Regions from separate parts of the Homo sapiens genome. Here region 1 is linked to region 2. The links are contacts of gene promoters, found by promoter capture Hi-C in blood cells and fetal thymus (Javierre and others, 2016). All regions are on one chromosome and are shown on one strand. Each heading gives the region's core, a stretch centred on a gene start or on the middle of the fragment in contact. The rest is flanking DNA. Distances are from core to core; before and after follow the strand shown. Region 1 holds the start of CIDEC (cell death inducing DFFA like effector c). Region 2 holds the start of FANCD2 (FA complementation group D2).

The links. The method cuts DNA at HindIII sites, captures the fragments that hold promoters and counts their contacts. A CHiCAGO score of 5 or more calls a contact.
Region 1: a contact is called between the fragment with the promoter of CIDEC here and the fragment with the promoter of FANCD2 in region 2, in 1 of 17 cell types (megakaryocytes). The highest score is 5.2, in megakaryocytes.

The regions. Positions count from the first base shown.
Region 1 is chr3:9,877,636-9,881,731 of GRCh38, reverse strand. CIDEC (cell death inducing DFFA like effector c) reads left to right here and starts at 1,479. Exons shown (of 7, transcript NM_001321142.2): 1 at 1,479-1,508; 2 at 2,678-2,790; 3 at 3,221-3,298. The coding sequence starts at 3,246. The HindIII fragment of the contact is 5,760 bases long and covers 1,322-4,096 here.
Region 2 is chr3:10,024,996-10,029,228 of GRCh38, reverse strand. FANCD2 (FA complementation group D2) reads right to left here and starts at 2,792. Exons shown (of 44, transcript NM_001018115.3): 1 at 2,756-2,792; 2 at 508-604. The coding sequence starts at 571. It also overlaps the pseudogene CIDECP1. RefSeq lists enhancers at 2,059-2,693, 2,694-3,329, 3,965-4,233. The HindIII fragment of the contact is 7,543 bases long and covers 1-4,233 here.

The DNA of each region.
Region 1 (4,096 bases), core at 230-2,729, 150 kb after region 2:
TCCCTATGTTACTCAGGCTAAATTTTAATTCCTGGGCTCAAGTGATCCTCCTGCATCAGCCTCCTTCTGAGCAGCTGGGACAACAGGTGTGCTCTGTATGACACACATACACCACACGCACACACACAGAAGTGGAACTGCTGGGTCAGAGATCTTACACTCTTAACCACTCCACATTTCAGCTTGTCTTACTCTCTGCTATGATTTAATATGTACATTATCAAATTGAGAAAAAGACAAAAAAATTAAAAATAATAAAATAAAAATAAAAAATTATCAGTAATACTAATAATCACTTCGATCCATTGAGTGTTTATGTTTGCAAAGCCTTTATTTTTATTTATTTTTATTTTTTTGAGACAGAGTCTCACTCTGTCACCCAGGCTGGAGTGCAGTGGCGTGATCTCGGCTCACTGCAACCTCTGCCTCCCGGGTTCAAATGATTCTCCTGCCTCAGCCTCCTGAGTAGCTGGGATTTCAGGCACCCACCACCACGCACGGCTAATTTTTGTATATTTAGTAGAGATGGGGTTTTCGCCATATTGACCAAGCTGGTCTCGAACTCTTGACCTTGTGATCTGCCCACCTCGGCCTCCCAAAGTTCTGGGATTAGAGGTGTGAGCCACCGTGCCCGGACTTTTTTTTTTTTTTTTTTTTTTTTGAGACAGGGTCTCACTCTGTCACCCAGAATGGAGTGCAGTGGTGTGATCTAAGCTCACCGCAACCTCTGCCTCCCAGGCTCAAGCGATTCTCCTGCCTCAGCCTCCCAGATAGCTGGGATTACAGGCACACACCACCACGCCTGGCTCATTTTTCTATTTTTAGTAGAGACGGGGCTTCACCATGTTGGCCATGCTGGTCTCAAACTCCTGACCTCAAGTGATCCACCTGCCTCGGCCTCCCAAAGTGCTGGGATTACAGGCGTGAGCCACGGCACCCAGGCTACTTTTTTCTTTTTTCTTTTCTTTTCTTTTTTTTTTTTTTTTTCAGAGACAGGGTCTCACTCTATTGCCCAGGCTGTCCTCCAACCCCTGTCCTCAAGCAATCCTCCCGCCTCAGCCTCCCAAAACACTGGGATTATAGGCATGAGCCACTGTGCCCCTTTACTTTTATTGTCACTAATCCTCACCACTACCCTATAAAACAAGAATCATTATCGTCATTACACAGAGAAGAGAAACGGGCTCACAGAAGTCAAGTGATCTGTCTAAGCTCAAGCAAGCTGATATGGGGTGGAGTTGGGACCACAACCCACATCTGCCTGCTTTCTGTGCCCTCTGTGCTTGATCTCATGTCATGGGCCATCCATTTTGCCAAAGCTTTCGAAACATGCCTTCTCCCCTCCTTTTAGGCCTTTTCTGGAAGTCAGGCTGGCTTGCAGCTCTCACCCCAAGCTCTTTTCCCCAGCTGGGGCTGAAGGCTGGGGAGGAGCTTCATGGGGGCTGGAAATAAATGAAGGGAGGGCTGGGCGGGACAGGGCAGTATTTCCAGGAGGCTGTGAGGGGGAGGTAAGGAGTTTGTTATTGTTTTGGGTTTGGGGATTTTTTTTTCTTTGCTCCTGGAGAGCAGGTTAGGTAGCTCTTGGCAGAGTTTTGCTAGGGATACGAAGTGGGTGAGGCTGAGGCAAGCAGAATCCTCCTGCCTCAGCCTCCCACGTAGCTAGGACTAGAGCTTCTGCAGTGCTAAGTGGGAAAGGGGCTTTCTGCCTCTGTGGGGCCTGGTCTGGAAAGTCCCCCAAATTGTTAAAAGCAAAGAGTGATTGTCCCCAGCTGGCAAGGGGACTTTTGTTTTATGTCCACCCCTTGTGCCCCTTGCTCTGCGAAGCCCTACCTGTGCCGGGAGCTTCGAATAGGAAGAGGACCTCAGGGCCAGGCATCCAGGGACTGAGGGGCTACAGCAGAAACAGACCCAGAGGCACCCTTGGCTAGGAAGAGCAGGATGAAGGTGTAATAATTTTGGGAGTGGTCTAAGAAGACTTTCCTTTTAAAGAGTGGAAAGCAATGAAACTGAGGCTTCAAGGCTGCAAAAATTTCGTCCTGGATCAGAGAAGGGCACTACAGGTGGAGGGAACTATCTGTGCAAAGGGTTGGGCCCTTCAAGAGTTGGAGCACAGAGGTTTAGGAGAAAAAGTGGTGACAGATGAGCCCAGGGCTATCTGCTTAGACCTGTGATCTAATATGGGTGCCAACAGCCACATGGCAATGTGGCTATTTAAATTTAAATTAGTTAAAATTCAATAAAGTAAAAAATACAGCTCCTGTGCCAGGTGCAGTGGCTCACGCCTGTAATCCCCGCACTTTGGGAGGCCAAGACAGGGAGATCACCTGAGGTCAGGAGTTCAAGACCAGCCTAGCCAACATGGTGAAACCCAGTCTCTACTAAAAATCCAAACAAAACGAAACTAAACTAAAAATTAGCTGGGCGTGGTGGCAGGTGCCTGTAATCCCAGCTACGGGGGAGGCTGAGGCAGGATAATTGCTTGAACCCAGGAGGCGGAGGTTGTAGTGAGCAAGATCGCCCCATTGCACTCCAGCCTGGGTGACAAGAGCGAAACTCAAAAAAAAAAAAAATTCAGCTCCTGAATCACACTAGTTATGTTTCAAATACTCAATAGCCACATGGGGCTAGTAGCAATGGTATTGGAGAGTATGTACAAGGCATGCCTCTATCATCACAGAATGTTCTTTTGGCCACTGTGAAGCCTCAGGAAGGGGCTCGGATTGCTCAAGGACCCATGGGAGAGAGGAGGCTTTGACTGGGCTGCCTGCCTGTGAGGTCTCTGGACTAGAGGTGAGGGAACGGTCCCCAGAAGTGTGAGGTGGTGTGACTCACCTCCTGCCAGCGTAAAGTGGACTCTGTCCCCATGGACAGGAACAAATCGGGCAAGGCTTCTTCAGCCCTGAGTTGGGTTATCTGCTCAGTGTGACCAGAGCCAGGGGATGAGAAACATGGAGTGAGTGGGACTGGGGCAGGAGCAGCAGCTGCTGAGTGAGGCTGAGCCTGAGCACCCGGTGGGGAGAGGGGTGGGGTCTCCAGCTTGGTCTTGGTTGGCATGCATGGGGCCGGACAGGAGAAGGGCTGGGGGAGGTATGTGTGAGTTGGGATAGAAGAATAGGGAGGAAGGTTGCTGAACAGGGGTTGGGTTGCACCTTGCCTAACAATGAGAGAGATGGGAACCCTCTCATCTCACCCTGATGAATTGTTTCTGCCTCCTTCCCAGGTCCAACGCAGTCCAGCTGACAAGGATGGAATACGCCATGAAGTCCCTTAGCCTTCTCTACCCCAAGTCCCTCTCCAGGTGAGGAAAGTCATGGGCAGAATGGAAAGAGAGCCACCTATGAGCTGTAAGCCAGAACTTCTCAAACTTTAATGGGTATACAGGTCACAGGGGACCTTGTTCAAGTGCAGATTCTGATTCAGGAGGTCTGGAGTGGGACCCGAGATTTTGCACTGCCAAGAAGTCCCTGGGTGATATTAATGCTGCTGCTTACACCACCACCACACCATGCATAAAAAGGAGTAGACACTATGCTTGGTGCTTTTACTCCTGATCTCATGTAAGCCTCACAACAACTTTGGGAAGTGGGGGTTATTATACCAAATTAATAGGTGAGAGAACTGAGGCACATAGTGGGTGCTCTCAATCACCCAGCAAATCCATGAGGGAGCCAAGATTCTAAATTGGGACTGCCTGACTGTAAAATCCAGGTCCTTTCCTTTCCTTTGGTTCTAAATTGAGTGCTTCAGTTAAAAAAATACCTTACATTGACTTCAGGCTTCCCCCACTTCATCCAACTTTACAGGTGAGGAGAGTGAGGCCAAGACAGGTGGTAAATGGGGAATGTGGGGTGGGTCTTTTATTACTTTGCTACTTACTCCTCATGGTCTGAGAACCAGCGTTATCAACATCACTTGGGAACTTGTGAAACATTTGGAATCTCAGGCCTCACCCAGGTCTACTCAGTCAGAATCTGCATTTGAACAGAAGCCCTGGTGACTTATGTGTCCTTCGAAGTTTGAGATGCACTGCTCTAGCAGGCTTTTTTTAATTTTTATTTTATTATTTTTTTTTAAGTCGAGGTCTCCCTCTGTTGCC
Region 2 (4,233 bases), core at 1,543-4,042:
AGCACCCAGCCATCAACTCCTTATATCTGGAACTCTTGGGATCTTTGTCAACTATTTCTCATATGGGCAGAGTCTGCACTGTTTCTTTGCCTCTGGTTTGCTTGCTTTGATGTATTTTTCCTTTCACATCACTAACATAGCATGTGTCTAGATCATAATATTTTTTTTCCAAGAGAGGAAGAAAGACCATAAAGTTTTTTAAGGGTACAGACTATGTTATGTCTTTGTGTCTCAACACCTAAATGATGTATAGCAGAAAAAGTCTGTAACACTAATTCCTCTTATGGATGTGGAGACTGAGGTCCAGAGGCTGTGGTCATACTCAAAGTTATACGCAGAATTCGAGGCAAAAACTCAGTCCCAAATCTGATATTTCTCCCTTAATTCTGTGCACTCCATTCATTACACTTTGAAGATTCTCAGCACTTGAAAAGCAGGAACTTTATATCTCTCACATGCCTCACACATTGCTACAGGAAATAAAGCAACAAATGACTAGATACTTACTGGAGGCATCTTCTGTCAGGCTCTCTTTATCCTCAGATTTTGACAGTCTTCTTTTGGAAACCATTTTGACCAATGTCTTGTGCACTTAAATTACTTCCTAGAGCAAAATCGGGAAACAGAAGTTACCCTCTAGAAGATAAATTCTGAGAAGTTAAAGCTATTGTTCAAAGAAAACTGCTCTATCCAAAATCAGAGGGGCTCACATCTCCATATTAATGCTACCTAAACCTAGGTGCTAAGCAAATTTCAACTCTTACATCTAGCCAATACTACCTTCCTTTCAAGTCTTAGTTACCTCTTTAGGCAGACTACTTCGCTGTTGCTGAAGGATAAAACCCATCACTCTCCATCTGAGATTCAAGACCCTCCATTATCTATCCCCAACGTACCTGTCCTTTAATTCATGATTTCAATACTATATGTTAGGGACTGTGCTAGGTGCTGGGGTTACAACTGTGAACTAGACAGACATGATCCCTGTCCTCAGGGAATTTACAGTATGGTAACAAATAGCCTTAATGTACTGAACTACAGTTATGTAAGTGCTATAAAAGTACAGGTTCTATGAGGGCTTACTAGGAAATTTAGTCTAGTTGCTAGTAAGGGTGGTAAAGAGAAGCAAGGACCATTTCTTAGGGACAATCTCCTTGAATTTTTTTTTTTTTTTTTTTAGTAGAGACAGGGTTTCACCATGTCGGCTAGGCTGGTCTCAAACTCCTGACCTCAAGTGATCCACCCACCTCGGCCTCCCAAAGTGCTGGGATTACAGGTGTGAGCCGCCCGGCCTAAAGAAGTGATTTTTTTTTTTTTTTTTTTTGAGACGGAGTCTCACTCTGTCACCCAGGCTGGAGTGCAGTGGTGCAGCCTCGGCTCACTGCAAGCTCCACCTCCCGGGTTCACACCATTCTCCTGCCTCAGCTTCCCAAGTAGCTGGGACTACAGGCGCCCGCCACCACGCCCGGCTAATTTTTTGTATTTTTAGTAGAGACGGGGTTTCACCGTGTTACCCAGGATAGTCTTGATCTCATAACCTCATAATCCGCCCGCCTCGGACTCCCAAAGTGCTGGGATTACAGGCGTGAGCCAACCGCGCCCGGCCTGAAGAAGTGATTTTTAGGCAGGGACTTGAGGGCTGAAACAGCAGTTAGCCAGTAGAAGGGGTAGGAGAAGAGGAGTCCAGGCAAATAGATACTCATACTGAAACAAGGAGATGTGGAGTTAGAAATCAGACAGCAGAGGTGGGGGAAGTGCCTGAATCACATGACCTTTTAATCTTGTAAATCAGAACCTTCGTGGTCTCAGTGCCTTTGCACAAAGGTGTTCTTTTCATCTGAAGTGCTCTTATTTGCCTGGAAATTCCTACTCAGATCTAAACATTCAATCGAATGTCATCTTCCTTGAAAAGTGTTCCTCCTATCCCTAAGGGAGTTTGCTACTGCAGCTTCCCTGCTCCACAGGGTATACCTAGGGGCCCTTACCTCACACTAGACTGGGGCTCTTTGAGAGCAGGAACCCAGTCTCACTTACTCAATGTCCCTAATGCCCAGCATAGTTACCGGCATAAGGAAAATTTCTGAGAATATTCAGAGTGAAAAAAGCTCGCAGTGCAGGGGAAATGCTAAAAGCTAACAAGAACTGTTTCAAGTGCTTTATATTTAATAATTCATTTATTTCCCACAAAACTTTTTGAGGTGGGTACCATTATTCTCATCATCACGGGCAGAACTGGGATTCTAACTCGGAGTCTGGCTTCAGCACCTGCGCTCTTCACCACCTATACTTACTCTTGATGATTATAATGACTTCTAATAATGGTTAACATTTACGAGGTACCGGGCCCTGTGCTAAACTTTTTATTTATCGCCGCTTCGGTTAATACGGATAACCATTATCAGCCATCTTGCAGATGGAAAAACTAAGTCTTGTCAGCACGTCCGGCTTCCAGGCACCCGCCTTTAACACGTGCGATACCATCTGGCTTCCAGAAAAGCCCAACAGAAGTGAGATGAGGCCGACTGCCTGGATTAGTTCATCGGGAAGCGGGTGAGGGTAAAAGCCTTTCTCGTTTCCGCATTTTAATGACGCAGAAAGGTACCTGTGGGGATTATCCCATCTCAGGGCAGATGAGGAAGCCAAGGTTCGGGGCGCGGAGCCCCAGAGGAGAACGCCGACCGCGGCCCGGACTTAGAGATTAGGCCGCAGGGGAGCGGGGCCTCGAGAGACTACGACCATTGCTCCACTTACTCACCGAGAAGCCGTCGCCGCCCGTAGTTTTCGACTTTCCCGCCAGGCCCGACGCCGCTCTGACGCCACCGAGGCGCGCCATGACGTGACGCCAACTTCCGCGCCGGAAGTGGAAGGCCGGGCAGCCCAGCTGAAGGCAATAAGCTGGGCTCACCGCTGCAGCAGAGTTCTGTGCTAGCCGGGCATAGGGGCGAGAGAAGGCCCAGAGGCGACGTCAGAGAGAAGCAACTGCGCCCCGGTGAAGAGAAGCTCGCCCATCACCGGCTGGGAGCCAGCTTTCAGTGAAGATGGCAGGGCCAGAACTGTTGCTTGACTCCAACATCTGCCTCTGGGTGGTCCTACCCATCGTTATCACTCTTCGTAGACATGATCCGCCACTACGTGTCCATCCTGCTGGAGAGCGACAAGAAGCTCACCCAGGAACAAGTATCTGACAGGTCAGCGCCCTCCCTTCCCCAGCCTACCTCACACCGCCGTGACCTTGGACAAGAAAGTGCAGGCGTTGTGTCAGTTTGCCTAGGTTCACGTCTCGCCCCCACTGGCAAGGTGACCTTACCCGTTACCTCTGTGTTTCACTTTTGTCCTCTGTGAAATGGGGATAATAACAGTACCTCCCTCATAGACAGGTGGGAATCAAATTAGATGATGTCTGTAAATCCCTTAGCACAGGATCTAGGACGTATTGAGTGTTAAAAACAAAAAACAAAAACGGTGCTGTTAATCCTTTAGGTTAGTCGCCAACCCTCGGTGGGTTTACCTATGAACTATCCCATCCCACCCTTTCGTTGGGAAGAGTGCCTGGTGCTTTATAGCTTTTAGTATTTGTAACATCCAGTCAAGTGAGTGTGATAATCTGCATTCTACCAAATTACTGTTCCAATGGTTAGCTGAGATGCTAAGCACCAAAGCGCTTTGCAATCTGTAACACTGCTGTTAGACATGTAAGGAATTGTAATTATCATTTCCCTTCCTAGGGTGGAGGCAACTTCCTCACATACTTCATTGCAGTATTTATTTATTTATTTAATTTAACTTAATTTAATTTTTGAGACGGAGTTTCGCTCTTGTTGCACTAGATTAAGTATCTATTATTTTTCCGTTTGCATATTTTATCACTTGAACAGAAACTCTGAGCGCAGGGTCATGACCTTGCCTTACTCTATACCCCATAGCATGCAGCAGAGTGCAAGGCACATGGTAGGCCATCAAAAAACTTGTTCACAGCCAGGCGTGGTGGCTCTCACCTGTAATCTCAATACTTTGGGAGGCTGAGGTGGGAGGATCGCTTGAGCCCTGGAGTTCAAGACCAGCCTGGGCAACACAATGAGACCACTGTCTCTACAAAAAAATTTAAACATTAGCCAGGTGCAGTGGTGTGTGCCTGTAGTCCCAGCTACTCGGGAGGCTGAGGTGTGAGGATCACTTGAGCCCGGGAGTTCGAGGCTGAAGTGAGCCATGATCGCACCACTGCGATTGCAGCCT